Regions from separate parts of the Homo sapiens genome. Here region 2 is linked to region 1. The links are contacts of gene promoters, found by promoter capture Hi-C in blood cells and fetal thymus (Javierre and others, 2016). All regions are on one chromosome and are shown on one strand. The core of a region is centred on a gene start or on the middle of the fragment in contact, and the rest is flanking DNA. Distances in the headings are between cores, read along the strand shown. Region 1 holds the start of NUP42 (nucleoporin 42). Region 2 overlaps TRA2A (transformer 2 alpha homolog).

Region 1 (5,133 bases), core at 1,716-4,215:
CCAAACCGATCACTACCAAGTCCTGCAAGCCCTAGGCTCTCATTGTCTCACACACACTCCACCTAGACAGTCTCAACCGGCATTCTGGCCTTGCCCCTCTCTACCTTCACCAAGCACTGGGCTTACCCTCACTTAAGTTTCAGTCACCACTGGTATTATTTTAGGTATTTGATCCCAGCAAAGTCCTTACACATGCTGACATGTGCAGGAATGAGAAGTCAGTGGCTACAAAGCAATACTGGTTAACACAAGGTGGTAATAAAATAAATATACTAAGGTTAATGAAAGCCAAGTTTCTTGTTATCAATGGAGTTAAAAATAGAGGAAAATAAAATGAATCATGTGATTTTGGATTGAAATTGGAGATTATCAGTGTGAACTCAAGTTTTTTTCTTTTTTTCATAGTCTTTGACATAGAAGGCATAATAGTTTTAATATATAAAATATAGAAATGTTTGATGTAAATGTTCGTGTTTGTTTATACATATGTATTTCCCAGCAATGTTCATGACAGCAAAGACATCCCAGTAGCAATAAGCACATTAAAGCTCAGATCTTGGTTTCTAAGCAGCACCAAAAGGACCCCTGGAGAAATAACTGATTTCAGGACTGGAGTAGAGAATGTAAAAATGAGCCTGGAACATCTCTGCACCAGAAAGTAAAAAAGTGCTCAAGTAATCATGGGGAATTTTTTTTTCTCCTTTTTCGAATGTGTAAAGGAGCTTAAAGGGGGTCCCATTGGCCAAATTGGAGATGATCTGAGCATCAAAATAAATAATGATAGTAATGGATTATAACCCATTGAATAACATTGGAAATCATGAGTCCATACTGATATAAATAAATAAGTGAATGAGCTAAAAGTTGGATGAACAATCAGATTTTTATATACTTTCAAAGTACCTCCCCACAAAATTCTTATTAATAACAAAAAGGAAAAGAATAACTTTATGGTAGAGCAGCTTGGCAGACACCACCTTAAGCAAGTAATCCATTGAGCATTACAGGTAACAGGACAAATTGAAATTGTGCACAACCTGCAATGTGAAAACCGCAGCATCACTTCTGTGATAATCCTGACAAAGATGCATAATCTGAATCTAATCAAGAGAAAACATCAAACAGACCTGCACTAAGGAACCTCTACAGTATAAGCAGCCTGTAGTCTTTAATAGTGTCAAGGTCATGAAAAGGAAAAACAAAAAATCTTCCAAATTGAAGGAGACACAAGAAATATGACTAAGCAACAATGATTCCGAACTGAACCCTTTTCCTCTAAAGGACAATATTGGGACATTTGGCAAAACATAAATGGAGTCTAAGGATTAGAGAGTAGTAGTGCATCAGTATCAATGTCCTAATTTTGTTGGCTGTGTTGTGGTTATGTAGAATGCCCTGGTTTGTTTGTAGAAAATATACAATAAGTATTTGGATCATGGGGCATTAGGTCTGCAACATAGTCTCAAATGGTTCAGGAAAAAAGTTCTTTGTACTGTTATTTGTAACTTTTCCATAAATTTGTTTCAAAATAAATGAATTGCATTGATTAAAGAAAATAAAAAACTAGTTTGGACAAGTAGTTCCCGTCCTGTAGATTCTGCTGTCTTCAAAATCCAAACAAATTACATGAGCAAGAATGATGGCTCACTCCCAGCTCAATAATCCTAAAACCACCAGCACAAACCTGTAATCCAACAAAGTCAGATCTATTGACTTATTGCAATCAAGAAGACTGCACACCAGAGGAGCTGTGGTGTGTCTCACCGTACAAAATAAAAGGTAGTTATTGTATGTTTTGGCGGGGAGAGTGAAGTTTAGGTGAAATTTAAATGAAATCTCAAAGCATAGCTGTGTGTAAAGGCATTAACATCAGGTCTGGACGAGAATTGAATGTAGGGCATGTTTCCTTGGAAACTGCAAAGTTAAGAAAATACAGAATGTTTTCAGAACCGTTTATCTGAAGCTCTACACCTGGATAGAAATTGAGGCTGCTTCTCTGCGTCAAAGAGACTTAGATCCTCCAGGCAAGGATGGGACTTTTCACTCGTTCTGATATAATTTCAAATAGCAACGTTTATGTGGACTTGAAAGAACAAGGTTTCGGCCAGACGCGGTGGCTCACACCTGTAATCGCAGCACTTTGGGAGGCGGACGCGGGCGGATCACGAGGTCAGAAAATAGAGACCATCCTGGCTAACACGGTGAAACCGTGTCTACTAAAAATACAAAAAAATTAGCCGGGCGTGGTGGCGGGCACCTGTAGTCCCAGCTACTCGGGAGGCTGAGGCACGAGAACGGCATGAACCTTGGAGGCAGAGCTTGCCTCCAAGCTCTGCCACTGTACTCCAGCCTGGGCGACAGAGCGAGACTCCGTCTCAAAAAAAAAAAAAAAAAAGAAGAAATAACAAGGTTTCTCAGTGTGTAGTAAGAATGTACTTAAGTGGTAATACTTTTCCGTTGCAGCATGTCCTAAAAGAAACATTGTTTCCTCTTAACGTCGTCTGGCTTTATTTGACTCTGTTATCCATCCAGATGAAAGGCTAGGCAGTTTGTTACTTTCTCAGCCCAAGCTAAGTTTTACCGTCTCAGCAAGAACGACTCAGTCTCTCAAATCATAGCTAATTCTCCTCTGAGGGCCTTGCTGAAGTTCTGCGTTTGCTTGCTCCGCTTTCCTCTCATTTTGGACCTCCAGCCTTCCTGTAGTCCGAGGCCCTGCACCGGGGTCAAACGCGCCTCCGGTCTTCACGTAACCGTTCAAGCATCCCTCCTTCCCAGGACACACTCAAAGCGTCAGAGCGGTCCGCTCTTCTCAAGTCCTATTGGCTCAAGTCCATGCGTCTCATGGCACTGCCGGGTGAGAGGCGGAAAAAGGCCTTCCCAGGCGCGAGAAGATGACGTCACAGTAGCCCGGCCGGGCGCCGAGGTTGCCTTAGGGCTCTCTGCCCAGTAACAGGCATCGAACGGTGCAGACTGAAGACGCCCTCCGTCAGCGACGCCGTCGCAATGGCCATTTGTCAATTCTTCCTTCAAGGCCGGTGCCGCTTTGGAGATCGGTGCTGGAACGAACATCCCGGTGCTAGGGGTGCAGGAGGAGGACGGCAGCAACCGCAGCAGCAGCCTTCAGGTGACTCTCCTCTGAATCCTCCGCGGTAACCGAGCCGGGAAGGGTCCGCCGGCGGGGACCGGGCGTCCCGCGTGTTTCCCGCTGCTGGTGACCCCAACGTGCCCGCGTCGCGGCCTTGCCGGCCCTACTGGGCCCTGCACAACGTTTTTAAACCGAGGGTTTTATCTACATATTATTCATGTGGTCCGTTTTTATTGAGCTTCTGAGGACCTGGGTTTGGGCCTGGATGCTTGTGCGAAACTGAGTTTTTAAATCGGAAGTACCTATCGAAACTACCTTGTAGGTAAATGCCGGAATTGAATATAATTTTTACTAAGTTGTTTTTTCGAGGGTGAGGCTAGCAGCTTGGGTCAGAATCAGGACTTCATTTTGGAGAAGTCGTGGACTTCTTTGAAAAAATCTAATAAAACCGGCCGGGCGGTGGCTCACGCCTGTAATCCCAGCACTTTGGGAGGCCGAGGCGGGCGGATCACGAGGTCAGGAGTTTGAGACCAGCCTGACCAACATAGTGAAACACCGTCTTTACTAAAAATACCAAAAAAAAAAAAAAAAAAAAAAATAGCCGGGCGTGGTGGCGCGCGCCTGTAATCCCAGCTACTCATGAGGCTGAGACAGGAGAATCGCTTGAACCCGGGAGGTGGAGGTTGCAGTGGGCCGAGATCGTGCCACTGCACTCCAGCCTGGGCGACAGAGCGAGACTATCAAAAAAAAAAAAAGAAAGAAAGAAAAGAAAAAAAGAAAATCTAATAAAACCTATAGAGCCATACCGCAAAAATGCACCTGCTCATAAATTTGGGGTGAAATTGGGAATGTGGGACGCCCAGTTAAGGGCTATCCGGGAGGTGAGGAAAGGAGATGCGGGGGCCACGTTGATCTAGTCCCTGGGCCTAGATCATTGTCAAAGCTTTTTATCTTCAAGGAAAGGAGAGATTAGACATGAAACCTTAGAACAACACAAGATTTTTAAAGATCGGGTTAATAATTCGGTGCTGTCTCCCTTCCTTCCCCTCCTTTAGGGCTATTCATCTGACCTTTATTTTTTTATTTTATTTTGAGACGGAGTCTTGCTCTCTCAGTCAGGCGGCTCACTGCGACCTCCGCCTCCCAGGCTCAAGCGATTCTTATGCCTCAGTCTCCCGAGTAGCTGGGATTACGGGTGCCCGCCACCATGCCCTTGATAATTTTTGTATTTTTAGTAGAGACAGGGTTTTGCCATTTTGGCCATACCGGTCTCGAACTCGTGACCTAAGGTGATACTCCCGCTTCCGTCTTTCAAAGTGCTGGGATTACAGGCGTGAGCGACCGCGGCGGGCCTCATCTAACCTTTAAACCTTGTATTGCGTGATGGTTTCACGTCTGATCCCACTTCAGGGAAGACAGTCCTTTTATTTCCTCCACAATTAATCTAGTGAAATATTTCAGACCGAAAATTAGGACTCATGTCTGATGAATGTGAGTGTAAACAAAATTTGGCAGACAAATTGTATTTAGCTCCCAGAAACAAATGAATGTTTCTGGAATTATAAGTATGAAGACCAAAAGCAATGTAAAAAAAAAAAAAAAAAAAAAAAAGGAGGAAGTGAGTTTCTTCAGTTGTATCATCCCCCAGTGAATTTGGAACTTTAGAAGAAGAAGATACCATTAACTTCTACTTGAGGGATCTGGTCTAGCAATCTCCACTTTTTTTTTTTTTTTTTTTAGGGTAGTTTAGAGTTGCAGGATGAACTTTCACAACTGGGCATGTGTGTCATTCTAACTTTTAATATAATTAATGGCTTATCTCTTTATTCAGTCAGAAACAAGATGAATTACCTTAATCTTGGCCCCAACTAGGAAGTGATGAGTAAATGAGATTGCTAAAATGATTTTAAAAAACAAAACAAAACCAATATATAAAGAGAGGAGAGAATCTTTTTGGCTCATTTTGATATTTATGAAATATTGGAAAGCTGGTAGAGGAACTACATGCATTCTGTACACATGTAAATACCATGTATAATCTCTCTGTG
Region 2 (5,133 bases), core at 815-3,314, 320 kb after region 1:
AAGAGAAGAAAAACAAGGGTTTTAAAAGAACCAAAGAAAAGACAAGGAATAACATTCTAGTGTAAGAAAAAATATTTTTAAAAATGAGAAATATTGGGAAGTTAAAACTCAGGATGGGTAAACTTTCATATAAATACACACTGGGGGGATGTGAGGGAAAAGGAAGGACCAGTTCCTCAATCATATTTCTCCATGGTACCACAATAAAGAGACAATCCCATTTTCAAAGAAATTAGCTTTTATTTGAGACTACTTTTCCCCACATGTATCTTTTAAGAATTCTATGCTATGTGATAACCTGCTTATCCACTGTCCCAATACCAAAATTTCTAACAGCGAATTATACAACTGCTCTAGGTAATAAATAAGGGTTGTCCTTCACTGATTAAGGGAATAAACTTCAATAAACTTAACAACAACAAAAAAAATCACACTTTAGTTTTTAAGTTTTAACAGATGTATTTCAAATACAGCATGTTTTACAGGAGTTCACAAGCTTTTCATCTCTAAAAAAAAACTTTCAACTACCTGACTGTTCCATTCCACCCCAGACAAACCTGACATGACTGAACTACTTCATGTGTTACTTTCCCAAAAATAAAGTTAAAAAAAAAAAGGAACTCATGATAAATGCAGATCTCTAATACAGTATCTAACACAAAAGAAGCTTTAAAAAGACAGTTTCTTTCCTTATTTGATTAGCTAGAAGTTTATCTAGGTAAAAGCAAAAAAAAAAATTTACAAAGCATAACATAACATTGGGGTTCTTTTTATACTCAAGATGTTTAACTGTTCAAAATGACAACAATTACATCTTTTAAGAGTATAATAAAATGGGTGGAAAACAGCAACACAACTGACAAAAGTGTAGATGCTAAATAAACCAAAGTTTTTTTCTTAAGGAGTAGGAAGAATCCACAGCTTGGGGAAATCTCAGAATTAAAAAAAAAAAAAAAAAAAAGAGGAAAAAAAATGTCCTTAATTGCAACCATTCCGTTATCAATAGCGTCCTAAAAGAGAAAAAGCAAAAAAAAAAAAAAAAAAAAAAAGTTAACAATTATAGTTTAATTTGCCTCATATTTTTCCAACTATTAACTGCCACCTTCCACCTTATACTCTAATATTCTAAAGTAAGCCATTAATTAGAAATGAGGTTTTTTATGCTACAAAAGTAAAGTTCACATACTTGGGCTGTAGGAACGAGATCTTGATCGTGATCTATATCGACTATAATAAGGAGAAGGTGATCGTCTTCTGTAAGAAATGAAAGATTACTTAGCATACTATATAATCACTCCACTGAGGCAGATGAAAATAAAAATTCCTCATCATTCAAAATAATAATGTACCTAAGGTGATAACTACTTAATATTAAGTTCTCTTTCTGCCAATGAGACCAGAAAAGTATATAGCACAACAAAATACTGACATATACAGACTGCTAACTTCTGCTCCCAAAGGCGTCATATATGATCTATTTTAAAAATCAAGTTTTTATTCATATGTATCCAACATAAAAGTGCCAAGTAACACTACTATCATCTAATTTAGAACAGAAAGCTCAAGTTAAAACATTACCTGTATCGGTAATCATAGTCTTCATATCTGTCATACCCACGATCATATCCTCTATCATAGTAAGAATCTCGACGTCTGCCACCACCTCCACCTCCACCGCCGCCGCCTCCTCCACCACCCCCACCACTACTGCAGAAAAATGTAAAAATTCTCCATTAGTGTGAATGACTATTTTCCAGGACACTTTAATACAAATTGAATGGCTTAAAAAAGAGAAAAGTGAGGAAGAACATCCCTTTCATGAGAAATTGCCTCCGTATCTCATTTTACTGACTCCCATGGTATTCTGGTTTGCCTTATTCCCTACATACATAATCAAGAAGGGCTTCACAAAACTCTCAAAACTATTAACTGCTTTTCTACTAATGCACTGCCCAAATTAAAATCTTTTCAACAAATTGAAACGATGAAGCACTGTGTTGAGCAGCAGTATAAAAATGCTAAGATGCATTCCTACTGCTAAATGAGACTGGTAAATAAATAAATAAATGAATAAAAGGTGTATCCCTGTGACTAAAAGGCAATAAACACCAAGAATTTTTAAGTAACTCTGGACACCAAAGAGAATACCAAGGAATGACTATATTCCTTCTTTTATTCCCAAGAAATACCTCTGTGAATACTGCCTTTGGTTGTATATTTTATTTTTATTTTTTGAGACGGAGTCTTGCTCTGTCGCCCAGGCTGGAGTGCAGTGGTGCGATCTCGGCTCACTGCAAGCCCTGCCTCCGGGGTTCATGCCATTCTCCTGCCTCAGCCTCCTGAGTAGCTGGGACTACAGGTGCCTGCCACCATGCCCAGCCAATTTTTTGTATTTTTAGTAGAGACGGGGTTTCACCGTGGTCCCGATCTCGTGATCTCGTGATCCACCCGCCTCGGCCTCCCAAAGTGCTGGGATTACAGGTGTAAGCCACTGCGCCCGGCAAATGAACATCGTGAGCCAGCCAGGAGGGTTGTATATTTAAAAACATTATCAAAACCCCTACTTATGTTTTTTTTCTTTTTTGAGAAAGAGTCTCACTCTGTTGCCCAGGCTCACTGCAACCTCTGCCTCCCAAGTTCAAGTGATTCCTGTGCCTCAGCTCCCGAGCAGCTGGGATTACAGGCATGTGCCACCACACCTGGCTGATTTTTTATTTTTTTTTAGTAGAAGCAGGGTTTTGCCATGTTGCCCCTTGCCAGAATCAATTCTAATTATAGGAAAAAAGTTTCTGAGTAATCAAAATTTTGCACATATTTCTGGTGGATTTCATAGTTTAGCTTAGGAAACTTGAACTCTTACTGAGTTGGTCTGCCCATGTAGATGCCTGGTGTTGGTGTGTGCGCTCTCTTGGTTATAGAATAATCCACCCGAATTCTTCTACCATCCAGCTCCATTCCATTTGCCCTTTCCATAGCCTATAAAGAACAGGCACAAAAAGTCACGTATAATTCACCAGTCTTGAAGTAATCATTACTTAAAATTAAGCACAAAGTATATGTAATCCAAATAAACTCCTGATTTTGAAAATGACAGCAATGTAGCTTGTACAGGGCATTGTATAGACAATTCTAGACCTCAACAATGTCCAGAACACATTTAAATTTACTCAGCAGAAAGAGTAGTTAATAAACTTTCCCAAATAATTTTCCAGTTCTGGTTCAATTCCCATTCCCCACTCCATGAGATCAACAAAGAGTAGTTAACAAACTTTCCTAAATAATTTTCCAGTTCTGGTTCAATTCCCATTCCCCACTCCATGAGATCAACAGGGGAGCGGAGACTGAAGTCTTTTCAAGCTAAATTTTTTGTAGGTTGCCCAGGTAGACTGCCATTTCATACTTTCTAGTCTCCAGCGATTTCACTTACAAAGACTGACTTCAGAACATTAAAAAGGGTTTGCTAAGCTTTATACATGTTCTTTTTATAACCTGCCCCCAATCTTATTCTTTAGTTTGCAGTCTAGTACACTGATTAAGACTCAGTGAGCAGCCAAGAAGAAATGATATAAACAGACAAGAACAAATTTATCGTAATGCCTTTCAACCTTTTATTGAGACTGAACTAATAAAAGTATAATAAACTAATAAAAACTACACAATTTTTATGTATCCACAAATATTTCTCCGTAAGAGTGTCCCATAAACTAAAGGTCATTAAAAAAAAAAAAAAAAAAAAAAGGAGGTCTCACTCCATTGCCCAGGCTGGCAGTGGATCATAGTTCACTGTGGCCTCAAACTTCTTGGCTTATGCAATCCTCCAGCCTTAGTCTCCTAAGTAGCTAGGACCACAGGTTTGTGCCACCATGCTCGGCTAATTAAAACAAAAATTCTTGGTAGAGAAGGGGTCTAAACAGTATTCCATTCAATGGAATGCATTTTATTATTTATTTATGAGACCAAGTTTCGCTCTTGTTGCACAGGCTGGAGTGCAATGGCGTGACCTCGGTTCACTGCAGCCTCTGCCTCCCAGGTTCAAGTGATTCTCCTGCCTCAGCCTCCCAAGTAGCTGGGACTACAGGCATGCGCCACCATGCCCAGCTAATTTTTTGTATTTTTAGTAGAGATGGGGTTTCACCATGTTGGCCAGGATGGTCTCGATCTCTTGACCTTGTGATCCTCCTGCCTTGGCCTCCCAAAGTGCTGGGATTACAGGCGTAAGCCACCACGCCTGGCCTGCATGCATTTATTTTTGTAGAGACAAGATCTGTTGCCCAGGCTGGTCTCTTAACTCGTGGCCTCAAGTGGCCTTCCCACCTCAGCCTCCCAAATAGCATGAGCCGCCTTGCACAGCCTAATTCTTGAAGATAAGAGTTGTCTCTTTGGTCTCTTTGAAAAGAACTCTGAGAGTATTATTTGTTTCTGGGACAATTTTTTTTTCCTATTCTCTCACACACATATATATATTTGTAGAGACCAAGTCTCCCTATGTTTCCCCAGGCTGGTCTCAAACTCCTGGGCTCAAGTAAATCCTCTTGCCAAAGTGCTGGGATTAGAGGCATGAGCCACCACACCCGGTCCAATTTTTAAAAAGAACTTTACATCACATAAATGTCTGCAAAAGCAAAGCTGCAACAAATTTAACACATCTTCCATTTGAAGTTCCAAAAATCAAAATTCTCTAAGTTGATCTCCCTGCACCCCATCCTAAGCACCCCCCAAAAAAACACACACAAAATCTCTAAGTACTTCTTACTAAAACAGGGTGAGGAGCTTATATTATTATCTTCACCATATGCACACTAATAACTTTGAAACTTCAGTGAAATTTTCAGAATCAGGGAGAAGTTAGTCAAAAAGGAATACAAATTTTAAAAAGATTTTAAAAATCACTTTAGGCTGGGCGCGATGGCTCACACCTGTACTCCCAGCACTTTGGGAGGCCAAGATGGGGGGATCATGAGGTATCAAGAGATCAAGACCATCCTGGCCAACATGGTGAAACCCCATCTCTACTAAAAATACAAAAATTAGCTGGGTGTGGTGGCATGCACCTATAGTCCTAGCTACTCGGGAGGCAGAGGCAGAATTGCTTGAACCCGGGAGGCAGAGGTTGCAGTGAGCCGAGATTGTGCC

What was found. The method cuts DNA at HindIII sites, captures the fragments that hold promoters and counts their contacts. A CHiCAGO score of 5 or more calls a contact.
Region 2: a fragment that was not itself captured here is called in contact with the fragment with the promoter of NUP42 in region 1 in 1 of 17 cell types (erythroblasts); the score reaches 5.2 in erythroblasts.

The regions. Positions count from the first base shown.
Region 1 is chr7:23,179,083-23,184,215 of GRCh38, forward strand. It overlaps NUP42 (nucleoporin 42), which reads left to right and starts at 2,966. Exons shown (of 7, transcript NM_007342.3): 1 at 2,966-3,124. The coding sequence starts at 3,004. RefSeq lists enhancers at 2,561-3,160, 3,261-3,330. The HindIII fragment of the contact is 4,881 bases long and covers 1-4,026 here.
Region 2 is chr7:23,504,560-23,509,692 of GRCh38, forward strand. TRA2A (transformer 2 alpha homolog) reads right to left here. Exons shown (of 8, transcript NM_013293.5): 5 at 2,861-2,976; 6 at 1,579-1,707; 7 at 1,187-1,254; 8 at 221-1,010. The coding sequence ends at 1,000. Among named protein-coding and RNA genes, the nearest start is that of TRA2A, 25 kb to the right of the region's middle. The HindIII fragment of the contact is 2,798 bases long and covers 666-3,463 here.